Regions from separate parts of the Homo sapiens genome. Here region 2 is linked to region 1. The links are contacts of gene promoters, found by promoter capture Hi-C in blood cells and fetal thymus (Javierre and others, 2016). All regions are on one chromosome and are shown on one strand. Each heading gives the region's core, a stretch centred on a gene start or on the middle of the fragment in contact. The rest is flanking DNA. Distances are from core to core; before and after follow the strand shown. Region 1 overlaps PDK2 (pyruvate dehydrogenase kinase 2). Region 2 holds the start of PPP1R9B (protein phosphatase 1 regulatory subunit 9B).

The links. Contacts are between HindIII fragments. The CHiCAGO score rates a contact against its expected background, and 5 or more counts as called.
Region 2: a contact is called between the fragment with the promoter of PPP1R9B here and a fragment that was not itself captured in region 1, in 2 of 17 cell types (megakaryocytes and endothelial precursors). The highest score is 9.9, in megakaryocytes.

What each region holds. Positions count from the first base shown.
Region 1 is chr17:50,109,704-50,112,403 of GRCh38, reverse strand. PDK2 (pyruvate dehydrogenase kinase 2) reads right to left here. Exons shown (of 11, transcript NM_002611.5): 11 at 252-2,447. The coding sequence ends at 2,307. It overlaps SAMD14 (sterile alpha motif domain containing 14), which reads left to right. Exons shown (of 10, transcript NM_001257359.2): 10 at 1-2,364. Among named protein-coding and RNA genes, the nearest start is that of PDK2-AS1, 8.7 kb to the right of the region's middle. RefSeq lists an enhancer at 1-607. The HindIII fragment of the contact is 8,208 bases long and covers 1-2,700 here.
Region 2 is chr17:50,149,372-50,152,071 of GRCh38, reverse strand. It overlaps PPP1R9B (protein phosphatase 1 regulatory subunit 9B), which reads left to right and starts at 1,395. Exons shown (of 10, transcript NM_032595.5): 1 at 1,395-2,700. The coding sequence starts at 1,559. All of the region lies in intron 1 of LOC124904025 (a long non-coding RNA gene), which reads right to left. RefSeq lists an enhancer at 730-1,024 and silencers at 1,035-1,124, 1,195-1,284, 1,934-2,043. The HindIII fragment of the contact is 4,765 bases long and covers 1-2,700 here.

The DNA.
Region 1 (2,700 bases), core at 114-2,613:
GTGGTGGGAGAGCTCTGTCCTGCTCCCCCAAGAGGCCAGTGGGCGCTGCAGCAAGTCGCACTCAGGGTAGACTCCCAGCCAAACTCCTCAACAGGAGCGCAGAGAAAGCAGCCTGGGGCGAGTGCAGTCTTTGCCAGGACTCAAGAGGGGAGGATGAACATCCCCTTCTCCCTCTCCCCTCCTCTGTCCTGTGGGTCCCAGGGGGCGAGATGACACCACACAGGTCTGCCTCTCAGGGCCCATTCAAGACCTGGTCTTTGACCCATTCTCCAAGCCAGGACTCCCTTCACTTCCTGCTGCTTCCTCAGAGGGCACCTAAGTCCTCTTTGGGAGCTGAGCAAACAGGAACTGATAGGGACAGAGGACACCACTTCCACCAGCCAAGGCCTAGGAGCTGCTGACCTGGTCAGCCCTCACCCCAGCCAGGCAGAGAGGCAAAACCTGGGGGTCCCCGGCAGCTACGAGATTGGAAAGGTTCATCAGCCCTCCCCCATCTGCCCCAGGCATTGTCAGGGAATCAGTGGGCTCAGAACTGGCAGGCGGTGCAAGCTCTGCTTCCCTGGGCCACACTGAGGGCTGGGGCCAGCTCCCTGGATGGGGGTGGAGTTTACCAGCAGCCTGGGGACAGCATGTGTCCTTTTTAGGAAATGTCCTTGGAGGAAGTGTTCATGTGTGGCGCTGGTCAGCAGCTAGTCCCGCTTCCAGGACACTGGTCAGAGTTACCGATGAGGCCTGGGGGCTCCCGCTTGGAAACCCCTCCAGCTCCTCCCATCTGCCCAGACAGAGCGGCAGATGGCACCAATGCATGCTGGCTCCCTCATTCCTGCCCAGGGGCTGTGGCTTACGGCCAGCACCCTGTACCTGGGACTCAGCCCTTATCCCCCCTCTGCTATCTGTGCTGGGAGAGGGGCTTCGGAGGGAAACAGATATGAGGACACTGGCACCATCTGGGCCTGGTGGCAGGGCCATGGGAGGTTGGAAGGCACCCACATCCTTAAAGCCATCAGTAGCTATAGTGGGTGCCCACCTGCATGTGAAGGGGAGGCAGTTCTCAATTTATTTCAATAAATCCTTATGATGTGCCAGTGACCAGAATTTCTGTCTGCTCCAGTTGTTGGGTTGGCCGGACTCTGCTGGGCCCTGAGTATGGTGGGACAACAGGTCTGTCACCAGGTGCTGGGCCATCCGGCGTTCTGAACAGATGGCTTTGCCCAGTGTTTTACTCACAGTCCTGAGCTGGGCCGGACGTCCCCGGTGCGTCATGTGGTGGTCACAGGGCACCGCAGTGTGCGTGTGTACGTGCGCACGTGTGGGTCCCCTCCCCCAGGGATGCAGCCAGGCCAGTCTCATTCAGTCTCCTCTTTACTGTGGGTGTGGGTGTCACTGTCACTGCCACAGCCACTGGGAGGGACACACAGCTTTAACCCCTGTGTGCTTAGGGGAAGGGTGGGGGCATTCAGGGTTATAAAACTAACTATATACACAGAAGGTCCTAGGGAGAAAGCCACCCTGAGCACACATGTCTGGGCACAGTGGGGGCTGGGGGCTGGAGCTCAGGCAGGATGGACTAGGCTTGTGGAGGAGCGGGTGGGCATGAGCATGTGAGGACATGCTGGGAGGGCTCAGGAGGTGGCACAGACATTGCCAAGGCCACTGCAGGGCCTCGAGCAGCTTGGCTGGATGGCAAGCTCTCGGTCTAACAAGGTTCTTCCACTTTAGAGTTGGGCCCTGTGAGAGCCACCCCCTCCGCCACCGACCTTCAAGCCCTGAGCGGAGGGAGAGGCTGCAGGACCAGCCTCATTCCCCACTCACGGGTGTAACTCCTTTCCCCACTCAGTCCCCAGGTCTGGAGGGCACCCACCCTCTTCCTAACACTTCAGCAGGCCAAGGCCAGGGTGCCTTTGTGGGCTGGGGGAATAAGGCAACGGGACATCCACTTGGAAGGCCTGTGCTGTGGAGGGTGCTGAGGGGGACCCAGTACCCCTGGCAGAAAAGTGACAGCCCTGGTCTCAGAGAGGAGGACTGCCATGGGAAAATGTCTCTGGGACACCCCATCAGGGTGGAGACATCCCTAACCCTCAGGCATCGCCCACAGAGATAGGGAGGCCACCGAGGGGTCTCCACAGAGATGGACTGGCACTTAGGGACCATCACAGACCTATCACCGCAGTGACTTCCATAGAGACAGAACCTGGTCATCAGGGAGAACCCACCCCCTGCTCCCCCAGGAGGATGGTGAGGGGCACCACGGTGGGGGGACCCAGAGGCGGCAGTCCGTCCTCTCAGGTGCAGATGCACGGCGGCCCTTAGCTGACGCGGTACGTGGACGTGTTCTTGGGCTCCGTGCTGGGCACACACCAGTCGCCGGCCTCCTGGATGGTCTGGTAGTGGCGCCAGGCTGACTTGTTGTAGACAGGCAGGCGCTCCACCGAGTCCGTGGACAGGGCCTGGGGAGTGTCAGGGTCAGCCCCTCCCACCTCCCTGTGCCTTGTCCACTCCTCAGCAGACCACCCCACCCCAGCTCAGCGGCAGCCCAGCTGCCAGACACGGGGGCCTGGAAAGACCACAAAAGGGTGGTCCCTCCTGTGTCCCGCTCCTGCCCATTCAAGCAAGCAGCTCCCTCTAAGGGAGGGAGAGGGAGGGGGAGGAGGCTGGGCTGTGTGACCCTGAGCAAGTCACGGACTCCGGGCCTCAGTCTTC
Region 2 (2,700 bases), core at 146-2,645, 40 kb before region 1:
CTCACCTGGACCTGTCCAGAGGGCGGACTCTCACACCCAGGGCCCAGGCAGCGCCAGCACCCTAGCTGTGTATGCGGGGGGTGCAGAGGGCATCAAACAGCTTTCTGGGTTGCCAGGACAGGGGATGTGTAAGTCACTGTCACCCTCCCCACCCCCCCACCCCAACCGGAACACAGTGGCCAGGATCCTTTAAATCAGAGACCCAAGTTAGAGCTCTCACTGGCGAAACTTTGGCCCCAGGCCTCTCGAATTCCTGCTCCCAAACCCTTCCTTCCGGTTTGAGAGGCAGGAGTGCCAGGGTAGGGGCCTGAAGACGGGTGCACAGCAGACAGGCGACAGGACATCCTTTCCAGACTTCGGCAGTTTTGGTGATCCCCTGCTACTTGGATGACGGGGTTCACCTCCTTTCTTCACCACCCCTCCCCCACCATCGAAAGGTCACCAGCGCTGGACCAAGGTTTCACACCTCCAAGGGGGCCAAAGATTGCCTGTAGTGAAGTGTTAAAATGCAGATTCCTGGGTTCAGCCTCGGAGATTCTCCTTCACAAGGTTCGAGAGAGATCCCAGAAATCTGCATTTTTACCAAGTGCCCAGCGATTCTGATGCTAAAGGCTTGAAGCACACCGAAGAGCTAGCTCCGAGGACACTGAAGAATGAACCTCTGCCCCTCCCTACAAACCCCCTCCCCTCACACTGAGACCATCGTGGATGTACTGCCTCCCCCCAATATTTCATGGAGGTGCGGTTCTGTGGGTTGTGACCGCAGTCAGAAGTTGTGATGGAAGCAGGTTGAAGAGTGCTGGCCAACGTCCGGGGGCAGCGGAAGGCTCTCCGCGAGGGCTGGGGAGGGGAGGGGATCCGTTCGGGTGGAGGGGAAGGGGAGGGCTCACAGGCTCCGGCCCCGGAAATCCGATCCCTTTAGGACCCAGAGGTGCCAGTCCCCCAGCGGCGGCTGCGAGAAGGGCAGCCGCTCGGTCTCCGGCAGCCGCCGCTCGGGCAAAGCCAGAGAAAGACCGAGGCTCGGGGCACGGGGGGGAGGGAGGGAGGGAGGGAGGCGCGGCGGCGGAGCGGCCCGGGCCGGCGGAGCAGCCATGGGCGTTGGGGTGCCGGGCCCCCCGAGAGCCGAGGCCTCCGGCCGGACTGGGGGACGCCCGGGCTGCCAGCCCCGCTGACACCGTCTCGGACGATGTGAGCCGGCGACACCGCGGCTGCTTCGCGGGCAGGGCGCGCGCTCCCACCGGCCCCAGACGCCGCTTTGCTAATTTGGGTGGGGGCGACCGTACCAGGCCGCTCGGGCTTTTGAAGCGGGGCTGGCTGTCTTCGGCAGCTTGATTGGGGGAGGCGACCCACACACAGGGCGCTTGGAGATTTTTTTTTTTTCATTTTTTTTTTTAAAGCGGGATTAACTGTTTTTGGCAGCTTGGTTTTGGGGGGACCCTAAAAAAGGCCTTCGGGGTTTCTTTTATCGGGGGGAGGGGGCGGTGGTCCCGACTTGGCCAGCCGCCTGTTGAAGCGGGGGAGCGGGGAGCAGGGGCATGCGAACCCGGCTCCCCCCACCATGATGAAGACGGAGCCACGGGGGCCCGGGGGTCCCCTCCGGAGCGCCTCCCCGCACCGCAGCGCCTACGAGGCGGGCATCCAGGCGCTGAAGCCGCCCGACGCGCCCGGGCCCGACGAGGCACCCAAGGGGGCCCACCACAAGAAATATGGCTCCAACGTCCACCGCATCAAAAGTATGTTCCTGCAGATGGGCACGACGGCGGGGCCCTCGGGCGAGGCGGGCGGCGGCGCGGGCCTGGCCGAGGCCCCACGGGCGTCCGAGCGCGGCGTGCGCCTGTCGCTGCCGCGGGCCAGCAGCCTGAACGAGAACGTGGACCACAGCGCCCTGCTGAAGCTGGGCACCAGCGTGTCGGAGCGCGTGAGCCGCTTCGACTCCAAGCCCGCGCCCTCCGCGCAGCCTGCGCCGCCGCCGCACCCGCCGTCCCGGCTGCAGGAGACGCGGAAGCTGTTCGAACGGAGCGCCCCAGCGGCCGCAGGCGGCGACAAGGAGGCCGCGGCGCGGCGGCTGCTGAGGCAGGAGCGCGCCGGCCTGCAGGACCGGAAGCTGGACGTCGTGGTGCGCTTCAACGGCAGCACCGAGGCGCTGGACAAGCTGGACGCTGACGCCGTGTCCCCCACGGTCAGCCAGCTCAGCGCCGTCTTCGAGAAGGCCGACTCGAGGACCGGCCTCCACCGCGGGCCCGGGCTCCCCAGGGCCGCAGGGGTTCCCCAGGTCAACTCGAAGCTGGTCAGCAAGCGGTCCCGGGTGTTCCAGCCCCCGCCGCCGCCGCCGCCCGCCCCGTCGGGGGATGCCCCGGCCGAGAAAGAGCGATGCCCCGCAGGGCAGCAGCCCCCGCAGCACCGAGTGGCCCCTGCCCGGCCGCCCCCCAAGCCCCGGGAGGTGCGCAAGATTAAGCCGGTGGAGGTGGAGGAGAGCGGGGAGTCGGAGGCCGAGTCGGCGCCCGGGGAGGTGATCCAGGCCGAGGTTACGGTCCACGCGGCCCTGGAGAATGGCAGCACCGTGGCAACTGCAGCCAGCCCCGCGCCCGAGGAGCCAAAGGCCCAAGCGGCCCCGGAGAAGGAGGCGGCGGCGGTAGCGCCGCCAGAGAGGGGGGTGGGCAATGGCCGGGCCCCGGACGTGGCCCCTGAGGAGGTAGATGA